Regions from separate parts of the Homo sapiens genome. Here region 1 is linked to region 2. Evidence: promoter capture Hi-C in human tissues and cell types (Jung and others, 2019). All regions are on one chromosome and are shown on one strand. Each heading gives the region's core, a stretch centred on a gene start or on the middle of the fragment in contact. The rest is flanking DNA. Distances are from core to core; before and after follow the strand shown. Region 1 has its middle 190 kb from the start of MPHOSPH6. Region 2 holds the start of HSD17B2 (hydroxysteroid 17-beta dehydrogenase 2).

Evidence for each region. Contacts are between HindIII fragments. The study calls those that stand out against the background at their distance.
Region 1: a contact is called between a fragment that was not itself captured here and the fragment with the promoter of HSD17B2 in region 2, in 1 of the 25 tissues and cell types used here (spleen).

Annotation. Positions count from the first base shown.
Region 1 is chr16:82,353,856-82,360,566 of GRCh38, forward strand. No RefSeq gene overlaps it. Among named protein-coding and RNA genes, the nearest start is that of MPHOSPH6, 190 kb to the left of the region's middle. The HindIII fragment of the contact is 5,251 bases long and covers 1-4,879 here.
Region 2 is chr16:82,031,501-82,038,171 of GRCh38, forward strand. It overlaps HSD17B2 (hydroxysteroid 17-beta dehydrogenase 2), which reads left to right and starts at 3,753. Exons shown (of 5, transcript NM_002153.3): 1 at 3,753-4,189. The coding sequence starts at 3,925. The HindIII fragment of the contact is 4,836 bases long and covers 625-5,460 here.

The sequences.
Region 1 (6,711 bases), core at 1,004-3,503, 320 kb after region 2:
GGCAGAAGAGATCTAGCAGCACCAAGACTTGAAGACAGGTCTATAGAGCTTCAAACTGAAGCAACAGAAGGAAAAAAGAAAAATGAAAGTTTAACAGAACTTCAAAGGCAGTGTTAAATGGTGAAGCAAACTTTTTTTCAGAGTGTCTGTTGGAGAGAATGACAGATAAATATGTGAAAAAATATGGACTGAAATTTTCAAAATTGGATCAAAAATAGTAACCCATTGCTATAAGAAAAGCTCAGAGAGCCCCAAGTAGGATAAAAAGAAAAAAACAAAACCTGAAACAAAACTACATTATAGTCAAGTTGACAAAAAGAAAAGCTAAGGAGAAAATGTTAAAATCAGCTAGAGGAGAAATCAATGCACATTGGATACACAGGGGAACAATATAAGAATGGAAACTGACTTCTCATTGGATACAATGGAGACCAAAGACAATGGAATATCTTTAGTCTCCATTGAATTTTTTTTTTTTTTTTACTTTTTAAAGAATTGAAAGAAAATAAAAAAATCTCAACATAGAATTCTGCATCCAGCATTAATATACTTAATAATGAAGTCAAATTAAAGACATTTTTAAATGAGGAAGAGTTGAAAGAATGTTTTGCCAGCATATTTGCACTGCAGGAAATGCTGAAAGATGTTCTTCAAGCTAAGGGGAAATGATAACAGAAGGGAACCCAGGTCTACAATAAAAACTGAAGACCCTGAGAAAGCATAACTATTTAGGCAAGCCAAAAATCTAATTTTAGAAATTATTTTTTTAATGCATATCCATCATATAGTTAAACTATAAAAGACTACTGGATGTTTAATGCAAAAATAATAATTATGTAGAATCTCTAATGTAAGTGGAAGAAAAGGATATGTGAAAATAGCACAAAGGATGAAAACGGATAAATTATGCTATCGTAAGAGTGCCCCATTGTGCATGAAATGCCATAGTATTATTTTAAGTTAGACCGTGATAAGTTAACCTTACATATTAGAGTGTACTGCTTAATAGAGTATCTACTGGCCATCTGTGGCAATTAAGCCCTTGAAATGTGGCTGGTGATACTGAGGAAGTACATTTATAATTTTAATTAATTTAAATTTATGTTAAAAACTGACACAGTGTAACTATCCTCTGTTGAAACACAATGTGGTTGCTCTGGTAGGCCTATCTTTAACTTTAACTGTTGTGATATGCTGTAGGTATAAAATTTATGTCAAATTGCAAAGACAATGTAAATGTACTTTTAGAAGACAAAATATCTCATTAATACTTTTATATTTGTTACATATTGAAATGATAATATTTTGGGTATATTGGGTTAAATGAAATACATTATCAAATTAATATCATCTGTTTTTTAAACTTTGCTAGGAAGTTTAGATATTCTGTAAATATATATATGTGGGTCACATTGTAATTAGGCAGCATTGCTCTAGAGGATTACTAAAATTATAGCATGAAATGATATAACTAAATAGTCAAATAAAGGAGAGAAATTGGAATGCTAAAAAATACCCATTTTTTCCAAAATAATGGAGGAAAAAAGGAACAAAGGAACAGTTGGAATAAACGGAGTAAATGAAATTAATGGAAAACAAATACCCAAATGATGAACTTAAACATAATTTTACCACAAGCTGCATGAAATATAAATAAATAAAATACTTCATTTTGTCAGATTGGATAAAATGTGAGACTAACCAGTATGCCATTCGTGAGAGAAACAGTTTAAAGACACAGAATTAAGGCAACAGGATGGAAGATGATTGTATTAGTCTGTTTTCACACTGCTATAACGAAATACCTGAGACTGGGTAATTTATAAGGAAAAGAAGTTTAATCAACTCACAGTTCTATATGGCTGGGGAGGCCTCAGGAAACTTACAGTCATGACAGAAGTGGAAGAAAACATGTCCTTCTTCACAAGGTGGAAGGGGAGAGAAGCGCAGAGTGAAGGGGAAAGAGCCCCTTATAAAACCATCAGATCTCATGAGAACTCACTCACTATCAGGAGAACAGCATGGGGGAAACCACCCTGCTGATCCAATCACCTCCTACAAGGCTCCTCCCCCAACATGTAGAGACTACAATTCGAATTACAATTCAAGATGAAATTTGGGTGAGGACACAGCCAGTTGATAGCAAGCTTAAGAAAACTGATGTGGTTATATATAAATAGTAGACAAAATAGACATCAAAACAGAGAAGAAGTAACAGAAATAAAGAAGTGTACTTCATATTAGTCAGTTTGTCAGGAAGATAACACAGTTCCCATATTTGTAGGCACGTAGTAAAAGAGCTACAAACTACATAAAGCAACAAATTATCTAAGTAAAGTGATATATAGAAAAATCCCGAATCACACTGGGACCTATTATCATTGTATTTTCAGTAATTTATAGAAAAGTAGAATAAGTAAACTTCACAAATGCTGTAAGAGAAGTGATGTAGAATGAAGAGGGATGGAATTTGCAAATTGAGATATTCTCAGAGGTCACCAGCCACTATCATTTTAAAATTCTAAGGACTTATTTTGTTAGTGTAACTTACATTGTTTTAGCTTTTGTGATAATTGCATATTGATCTTAAGCTTTTATGATCAGCAAATATTTCTAATTTCTTTTTCCATGTGCTCTGTTAAACCATATTTGTACCAATTATATTGGGGAAAACAGTTTGAAAAGAACAAATTTTGTTATTACTATTTGCAGTTTGGATTATATTTTTCCTGATTAGTGTCTGTGTACTTAAATATAAGTATCTAGAAATAATTTATAAATATAATTCCTCAATACCCTTTTAATGCTTACAGAATATCTTAGAGATCTTTTAATGTGACTATACAATGATGTATCGCCATTTTATTGTATCTCCTAGTGTGGATGCTTTATAATTTGCTTAGCAATTTATCTGTAATTGGATCATTAGGTTATTTCTAGATTTTCACAGTAACAAACAATGTTGCAATGAAAATGCGTTTCGCACTTTTTTACATAGGTATATGTATTTTTCCCTAGGGTTGATCGCAGCAGAGTGGAATGGTATATACAATTTAAAGTTTCTTACTTATGCCCAAATTTTTTCACAAAACTACTTTAAAAATTTGTGCTCCTATAAATAGAGTGCAAGAACAACATCAACCTTTTCCTAATCTTACGGTGATTTGGGACATTTTTTCATGTATTTGCAGGCTGTTTGATTGAATGCCCTTTTCTGTGAATTACTTGTTCTTATCCTTTGCTCACTTTTCTATTGCATTGCTTGCCTTTTTCTTATTCATTTGAGGGAGATTTTTAAATGTGCATTTGATAATCAACCTTTGTTGTATGCATGAGGAATATTTTCTCCATGCCTGTTTCTTGTCCTTAACATATTTATTAGAAATTTCATGTTGGTAGTGTCGTCGTTGCCCTGTATCTTTTCAGCTTTGTCTCCCGTGACTGCTCATGGGATTTTCTGAGCACTTGCGTGTAGAAGGTGCTCAGAAAGCAAATGGCTTTCTCTGGGCATCCCCTTGCTTCTTTGCACCATGTGTTAAAGGCAAATGTTGGCTGAGTTGAGTCAGTGTTTCTGCATTTAGTGATGTTTTAATTAGAGCAATTGGCTTGACTCAAGCCTGTTGACATCTGCTGATTGCTGGCTGGTCAGTAACATTTACCATAGAAAGTGATGGCCATGGATCCCCTTCCCTCCTCTGGGAGGGGTGGATGCCCAGTCTTTCCAGCTCTGTGTGGCATCCTCAAGCTCTGACAGTTGTTGGCTCCATGCAGTCCTCACTAACTAGAGACTCGGGTTCATCTGCCTGTTCTACCCCACATGGATCCCTTTAAAAGAGAGTGACCATCAGAACTTGGCACCTTGGGATACCAATTTTAGCTTTTGGCAGAAGTCTCAGAAAGTCTTAGTCTTTAAAACTAAGTGGTCTTCTTGGAAAGATCTCAAACTTGGCCCTGTTGGACACTGCAGACACATACAAAACAACTGTTTGTTCAAACAGAAAATGGGGAAACATTACAGAATCTGAAATATGCCGCTATTTAATTTCTAAAATATTTTTATATACAATAAATTCATGAACACATGCTCATGTTAAAAGGTAACACCAGAATGAAAAAGAAGTCTCATGCCATTCTTGCCTCATCAAGCCTATGCCTCTCTCCAGATGTAACCACAGGTCAAAGTCAGGTCGCATCTTTCTAGACACAAGTGCTCTTTAAACAGTGCTCATGTTATACCTATTGTTCTGTAGCTTCATGCTTCACACTTCTTTCATGTGGTCTTTCATAAGTGACTTACATTTCCATGCATTAGACCTTTCCCTTGCCATCTGGGGATGGGTTTAGTCAGAGGGACAGGCCAGTCACAGGTGTCACATACTATAGTGTGTGCAATGTGGAGGGAAGCAGGGGATGGCAAGAGATATATAACCTTTGGCTGAGAAGAGAAGTGGGACAGTGAGGACCTCCTCGAGCAACTGACATATGGGTGATCCCTGACAGACATATGGGAAGTGGTTGTGGTAGGCTGATCACGGGTTCCACAAAAGATACCCAGGTGCTAACCCCTCAGAACTTGTGAATGTTACCGTATATGGCAAGAAGGGCTTGCAGTTGTGATTAAATAAGGATCTTGAGATGGGGAGGTTATCCTGGATTACCTACATGCAATCACAAGTGTCCTTATAAGAAGAAGAAGGGAGATTTGAGATAAAAGAAGGGAATGTGACCACTGAAGCAAAATGCTTGGCTACTTTGAAGATGGAGGAAGGGACCAGGAGCCAAGGAATGCAAAGGATGCTGCTCTAAAATTTGGAAAAGGCAAAAAAGAAAAAGAAAGAAAGAGAGAAAGGGAGGAAGGGAGGAAGGAAGGGAGGAAGGAAGGAAGGAAGGAGTCTTCGAGCTTCTGGCGAGAACACAGCCCTGCCAACACCTTCGTTTCAGCCCGGTGAAACCAGTTCTTCCAGAACTGTAAGAAAATACGTAAATACACAAGCCATCACATTTGTTGTCACTGGCTAGAGTGGCTTGGAAACTAATAATAGCCAAGTAGAGAAATTCATTTAAAAGAATAATCCTGTAAGTTTTCTGGTAAGAGAACAGGAACTACTCTTTAACACGTGTTGGAGCAAAGTGAGGGATAAAGCAAAGAGACTGTAGACTGGCGATGTAAACAGGGGCCAGATCACACAGAGCCTGCAGGGCACACCCAGCAGGTTTATCTTCTATTGACAGCAACAGGGAGCAAGAGAAGGCTTTTGAGCAGGGGAACAAGCAGACTGTAGTATTGGGGAGATCACCAGTAGACTCTCCTTGAGGCTGTTACAAAAGAAGAAACAGAATTTGGTCACCTAGATGGCAACTCTTGGTTTTCCTACTTTTTTTTTGTTTGTTTGTTTTTTTTTTTTTTTTGAGACAGAGTCTTAATGTGTCACCCTGGCTGGAGTGCAGTGGTGCGATCTCGGCTCACTGCAACACCTGCCTCCCAGGCTCAAGCGATTCTCATGCCTCAGCCTCCTGAGTAGCTGAGACTACAGGTGCATGCCACCAGGCCTAGCTAATGTGTGTGTGTGTGTGTGTGTGTGTGTGTGTGTGTGTGTGTATGTGTTGTGTGTGTGTGTATTTTTAGTAGAGATGGGGTTTTGCCACATTGCCCAGGCTGATCTCGAACTCCTGAGCTCAGGGCAGTCTGCCTGCCTCAGCCTCCCAAGGTATTAGGATTACAGGTGTGAGCCATTGTGCTTGGCCCATTTTCCTACCTTTTTACTCCCATTGCATTAAACGTTTCCCCATTCCATCCAAAACTGAGTTCCCTCTCCATCCTAAAAAGAACTGAGCTCTGCTGGGCACGGTGGCTCACGCCTGCAATCCCAGCACTTTGGGAGGCCGAGATGGGCGGATCACGAGGTCAGGAGTATGAGACCAGCCTGGCCAACATGATGCAACCCCATCTCCACTAAAAATACAAAAATTAGCTGGGTGTGGTGGTGGACACCTGTAGTCTCAGCTACTTGGGAGGCTGAGGCAGGAGAATTGCTTGAACCCAGGAGGCAGAGGTTGCAGTGAGCTGAGATCATGCCATTGCACTCCAGCCTGGGCGACAGGGCGAGACTCCATCTCAAAAACAACAACAACAAAAAACAACAAAAAAACCCCAGCTCTCCTGGGATAAAACTAGATAACTAGTTTCAAGGCTGTGGGTAGGTCATTCCTTTTTGGGTTTCCAGGGTGGCTGTTTGAGTAGTAGTAAAAAGAGGGAGCTTTCTGAGCTGGCTGTGGACCAAAGCAGGCTAGAAAGAGGCAACAGAGTTGAAAGCACTTTACTTCATCTAATCTAGACCCATGATGTCCCTGAGCCAGCTGCTGACTGAGGACAAGGGGGTAGAGAGACATGTCCCCATTCCCAAGGCCCAGAGGATGGCAGTCTATCACTGGTGCTCAGACTCCCTTTCAGGGCTGGAGTCCTGAATAGAAAAAGCACTCCAGGTATCACTGTTCTGTAAGAATTGTAGTTTTGCCCCTAGGAAATTTCTGAATCTCTATAATGATTAAAGCAGACAGTCACCAAATCACTCTGTAGGGGAGAAAGATAAAGATAGCCTTCAGGGTTAGGTAAAATAATAAAAATACACTTGAGTGGGAGGCCTGTCAAGGTGATAGGAGATTTTCTGTTCTCACTTTAACAGTAGCTGTTGACAAGAGGAGGCAGGACTG
Region 2 (6,671 bases), core at 2,503-5,002:
TGACCTAGAGGAGAATGTTCTAATATCCCGAGCCATCTTGAATGGGAAAATCAGCCTTCAGAGGAAGTGAAGTGCCTGTTCTCAGAGATGTTCTGGCAATAGACAAGATGACCACTTGGTGGGGATGTTACAGAGGGAATTCCCATTTTAGATGGGAAGTTCCTTCTTCAAGTTCTCTTCTAAACTCAACATCCACCAATTCTAAGAAAGTGTACATTGGAGGATTCTCAGCATTTTTTTTTCCCCAGCATTTTTTGCCCAGCAATTTTTTTTGGGGGGGCGGCAATCCTTTCTTTTGGGTAGGATGTTTTGTTTTCAGATGGCATTTTCCAAAAGGCCCCTCTGCTGGCAGGAGGAAATGACACATTGACCCACTGGCGTCATTAGCAAGAATGAGTTGGTCCAATTGGCTCCTTTTCCCTGGAAGGCTGAGAGCAAGCCTGCAAGCAAGGGGACACTGGCCAAGCCATGATGGCCTCGAGAATAGCTTCACGACAAAATGGTGGGGACAAACAAGGGACACGATTTAGCTCAATAGGATGCAGGAAATCTTCATTCAGCGGTAGCTCTGAGATGGACTGACCCTGAGGTTGGGATGAGGACATTCAGGGCTTAGAAAGGATTGGGCTAGTTCTCACCTGGGGATTCTGCAATTCCATATATTCCCCAACTGGTAAATAGCCTTCCTTTCCACCACCGTGCACCCCCACTAGTCTCTGCTCCTGCAGCAGGCCTCCTGGAAGCACTGCGTCCTCAACTCTGCAAGGCCAGGAACCGGGTCTATATTGTTCACTACTGAATTCCTCCATGGCTGGTGCAGAACTGGCCACCTAGAAGACTCTCAATAGAGATGTGATTCTTCCTATATTTTTCCAACAAATATTAATTATGTACATGTGATGTGCCAGGCACTGGACTGTGCACGTGGTGAACAGTAAAGGAAAAACAATAAACAGATAAGGTTCCTGCCCTCATGAAGTTTATGGTCTAGTAGGGGAGACAGAAAACGTTCTTAAACTGATCAAAGTAAATATATAATTGTGGATTGAGCTAAGCGCAACAAAGGCAATGAATAAAGCGTGCTGATAGGAGATACTCAGATTGGGTGACAGGAGGTGATGTTTAAGCAGATATCTGAAGGATGACAAAGGAAACAGCCGAGTGCTGAACTGAAAGAAGAAATAAATGAGTGAGGAGGTAGCTGTCAAGAACCTCTCTCTCTGCTCAGAGGAAAAAGGCTAAGAGGCAGTGGGTACTCTCAACAATGAGAAAAGTGCCTACCATCCATGAGTGCCTGTAAGTGCCAGGGACGATGCAAGAATGGTGTCATTCACTTTTCAAAACAGCCCTTGGAAGAAAGACTCCTCCTACCGCCAATTTACAGAAGAGGAAACTGAGGCTTAGGAAGGGCAGGTAACTTGCCCAGTGCCTCACAGCTAAGCCAGGATTCGAACTCAATTTAGAAGTCTGTGAGACCCGAAAGCTCATGTTCTTAATACTGTTCAGCCCCTTCACCATCAGGGCTCAGGGAGTATCCTTCATGGGACTTCTGTGTGGCCTGAGGGTGGCTTTTGCTCATAGATTTTACCCTCCCCTTGGGAGCCCCAGGACAGAGTAGGTCTGGGAACTCGCAAGGGCTGCCTCCAGGAGAAAAGCCACCTCTCTCAAGTGGGCGTGCACTTGGCAGGAAGCCTGCGCAGGTGTTTGGCTCAGCCCAAATGTGGGAGCCACTGACCAAATGCCAAGACTCTCAGCGAAGAGCCATAGCTAGTCCTGTCTCCCCACCTGGAAGCTGTTTTTCGAACGGAGCTAACTGCCAGGATGCTCTGGGCTGGTGAGGCCACAAGGATTGTGAGAGGTGCCCTGTGGCTCAGATGGCACCCAGGAAGGAATTGGGGTCTGTTGAGGGAGGGAGAGTTCAGGGCTAGCCAAAGGCAATTCCAGATCCCTGCCCCTAAGCTTCCTGGCCTGGAGCTGGTAACGTCTCCCTGACTCAAATGTCCATGTGGCTGGGAGGGCAGACAACAGTTGCCATCACTCCACGCAGACCCTCATAACTGCCTTGTTGTCCAACCCCACAGTCCCACAGCACAGTAATGGTTCACAAGACACTGCTTCCCACCCCTTCTCCCTTGGGTCTTGAGTTGGCTTTGAGCCCAGGTGGGCTCTGCCTCACCTCCCTTTACAGGGGATACGCTGCTGGGTCCCTTCCTTCCCGAGTCCTGCCTCCCCAACATCATCCACAAAAGGCATCCTCTCCCTTCCTCCTCCTGCCCCTCATTTAACTCCAGCACGTGTTTTGAGACAAGTCTATACTCCACTGGACACTTTGTTTTACACGACTTCCTCTTATTCTTCATTCTCCTCCTGTTTAAAAAACATGAATCACTAGCATTTATGAGGTTCCTTCTACTGTTCCAGGCAGGATATGATATTATTTTATAGCCAAAGGGATGAAGATCTAGGGAGGTGAAGTGACCCTCCCAAGACTATGTAATTAATAAGTAGTGGAGTTAAGATTAGATTTGAATAGAGGGAAACTGACCTCAAATAGAGAATGTTTCTCTCTAGCTATGCCAAAGTCCAGCCTTTATCACAACCTTGCCTCCCTCCAGCCAGGCATGTGGCCCACATGGGGCACGCCCTGAGCCCAGGTGCGGTGACCCCTCTCTGGCTTAGCACGGTTAGGTGGTGCTGTAGTTGCAGAGTGCTGGCTTTTAAGCCGCTTGTGAGTAAGGGATTTATTTTTTCCCAGCCTCAGTTTTTCTCTCTGTAAACTGACCATAATAATAACACCCACCTCAAACAGTTTTATAAGGTTGAAATGGGGTGAAAGTAGGAAAGATCTAGCACATAATGCACTAATTTTTTTTTTTTTTTTTGCCTAAAGCAGGCAGTGGAATAGAATGCTTAGGGGCATACAGCTCTGAGATCAGGCTGCAAGACTCCACTGCTGTGTGATCTTGACTAAGTCTCTTACCCTCTCTGTGTCCTGGTTTCCTCACCTGTAAAATTACTATAATACTAGAATCAACTTCATAAGGATATTGTATTCAAGGAGGATGAGAGGAGTCCCAGTGAATGGAGGCTGGCATAGAATAGGCTTACAATAAAGAGAAAGAACAAATAAGCAGCTATACACAGCCTCTGCCACAAAAAACTACCAATAGATATTAGCCGCTATTAGTTAATTGTCATTATTATCTCTCCCTGGCATGTTTCCACTCAGGCAAGACCAAAGCACTTTCCTCTACCAAGGAATATCTTCCTCTACTTTCATATCCCTCTCCATCCAACCCTTCAGCCTGCCTCAGTTGGGATTTGTAGGAGTCCTGAAGCTATGGACCAGATCAGAGGTGCCTTCCCTTCCAGAATCTATTTTCCAAACTTCATCGATTGCCTATATTTATATGCATGCATGCACACACACGCACACACACACACACACTCTCACTCACTCCCGAGTCAGAAAAAGGACTCAGCACCCAGACATACTGCAGGCTCTTGAAGAAGACAGTATTTTCCTGTGAGCTAGAGGATCTTCCTGTTATTCTCCATGCAGTTCAAATTCTGTCAATTATTATCCAGTTAGTCATCGCTCCAGAGGTGGACTGTCATTAAAAAAAAATAGAAGGTGTGTGTTTGTGGGTGAGTATGTGCATGTGTTGTGTATGCAGGGGGTGGGGAGGGGCGAGAGCGGTCAAATAGGAAGTGCCTTGGTATTTATGTTGAAGTGCACACTGGTTTAAATTACCCACTGGGAATATGATTATGCTTAATCTATGCTCAGTTGAAAGGGGCTGGGGCTGCTTTCTCCCCTCCCTTCTTGACTCTCTGTTCACAGAACTCAGGCTGCCTCCAGCCAGCCTTTGCCCGCTAGACTCACTGGCCCTGAGCACTTGAAGGTGCAGCAAGTCACTGAGAATGAGCACTTTCTTCTCGGACACAGCATGGATCTGCCTGGCTGTCCCCACAGTACTATGTGGGACAGTATTTTGCAAATACAAGAAGAGCTCAGGGCAGCTGTGGAGCTGGATGGTCTGCCTGGCAGGCCTCTGTGCAGTCTGCCTGCTCATCCTGTCCCCTTTTTGGGGCTTGATCCTCTTCTCGGTGTCATGCTTCCTCATGTATACTTACTTATCTGGCCAAGAATTGTTACCTGTGGATCAGAAGGCAGTCCTGGTGACAGGTAAGCAGACGGTGCTACAATTTTCACTGAGGGTATGATCTGAAACTTGCTTTGCCTTAGCAGGACTTTGTCAAATCTGGCTTAAAAATAAAATACTTGGCATGGAGTAAATGAAAGCCCTCACCCAAGTATTTTTCATGACACTGTTTTCGTTCCGTTTTTTCCAGGAGGTGCATTTGAAGGGGCTGGTAGTGGGAGGGAAGGAGAGGATGAAGTGCACCCAGACAATGATTTTGTTAAAATTTCCCAGGAATAAATATTAATAGGCAAAATGGCAATATTTCATGTGTTCTATTGTACCCAGGAATGTCCCATAGATTGTTTTTTAGGCTTAAATGGACTTTTGTTCTGACATCATTGTTTGGCCAGGTTCTCCACCTGGACTCTTCTTCCCTAGGTATGCAAGAACGCTTACAAGCCAAGTTCTACTTGTCCCTTGCTGTTTTGAAATATTGAAGGGATTCACTTACCTGGGCTGGAGACTTTGCAGTTTGCTTGGCTGCTGTCAAGAACCTTGTGTCCTGTCTGAACTGTTCCTCATTAGACCTCTAATGTTTCTTAATTGGACCAACTTGGCATCGTGTCCAACATTCAGTTGCCTGTTAGCTGAGCTGCCAGTTTTTCCCTTGTTTGTGTGTGTGTGTGTGTGTGTGTGTGTGTGTGTGTGTGTGTGTTTCCCCATTGCAAGTGTGAGGCCAAATTAAATTTCTTTGAGTTGTAAAATTTTTGCTTGGTTATGGAGTTTAAGCTTGGATAGGGCTGTAATTAGGATTATCCAGCGTTATCCTAACCCAGAAAGCCCTACCAAATAAAAAAAAAATCAGCTGTGGAATCATTTGGGGGAGATCATCACCCCTCTGACCATGATCCTCAGGGTGAAGGCAAGAATGGCATGGGGATGTGGTTGGGAGAAAATCTGGGGCTTGACAATTTGCAGAGAAACAGACTTTGTTTTTGGGTTAAAGTAAAATGCTTTCTTGAAACAAAATGCAAATTGGTGCTTGTTGGGGTTAGACAAGCCACAGAAAAGAAGCTTCTTTAAATTAATTTTTGAAAGTTTAGAGGGAGAAAATTCAGTCAATGGGATGTTTATCTGCAAGAATGTCTGATATCACCTGGAATCATGTATCTGGGAGTCTGGCTGGATTTTCCACTTTTTTATTAGAATTCTCAAATGGCTTATCGGTGAAATTTGTAAGAGAGTCTCAATTTTCCTGTTCTGTGTCCTGTTCTGTTATGAAACCTTAGGATGAGCTCAGGCAAACCACAGGGTAGCTGAGAAAATGGGAATCCCTTCTTGCTTGTTTATTTTGTCAACATTCTTTATCCTCTGCATTTCAAGATGCAGGTGTTAATTAATGCTCACAAAATATGCACCCAACTCAGTGAGCCCACATCAGCCACTGAAAGGTGCCGTGCATTTAGTGTTGAGTGAGGATGATTGAATCAATTAGGCAACTCAAGCTCAAGGACTAATCCCTGCATGAAATGCTTATGGCAATGAAGAAAGCTTAGAATTAAGATGAGCACTACATATATTTAAGGATGACTGAAATGTCACTTTCACGTTCTTTGTTATTTTCAAGTTCTCTGTCATTTTTATGAGGAATGCTATGTGCTCATATCATCCTAGACAAGGCCTCAAGACCTTTGTATGAAATCGAGAAATTTAAAATGAATTCATTTTGTTAGACCACAACTCTTTAAAGAATGAAGAAGCCACGCTGAGTTTGGAATAACCTTTGTTCCAGATTGGCTTATGATAACATAGATTAGCACGCATTGTGGTGGGGCAGGACCAAAGAAAAATGTGGCAGTGTACATCAAAACCATACATATGGTTCCTTTATCTGATAATTCAAGTCTTGGAAATTTATTTTGAAGACATAATCTGAAATATGAAAAAAAGAGTAGAAGCAAAACCAAAATGGCACATTCAACACAATCTTATTATTTAATTTAGATTAATATTAAATATCAAAAGCAACAAAAAGGGTGATAATATATGGTACATCCTCTGGGTATAACAATGTGCAACCATTAAAAATGACAGCCACAAGGACTGTGTTACATGGAAAACTGCTTGGGCCAAAGGAAAACACACAGGAAATCCCAGGGTTGGAACAAGTCTACAGCCACGTCAAATGCATAGATTCCTGGGCTGGGCAAAAAGCTGTGATAACAGCTGGAAGAAATAGTTTGTATATGGTTGGATTAGTGTGCTGGAAATAGTTTGTAAATGAAAGGAAATAGTTTATAAAGGAAATAGTTGGTTAATGGTTGGATTAGACTATTTACGTGTTATTTTCTCTCCTGGATTTCAAATTTCTCTGGTGTGATTACATTACTCATACAATAAAAATACTTAAAAGAGAACACAAAACAGCTAAAGCTCCTTTTAGTTTGTATTTAATTTTGGACCCAGGTGAGAGGCAATTACAAAGACAAATTTAAAAAAATGACTTTTTTCTCCCCTTTGAGC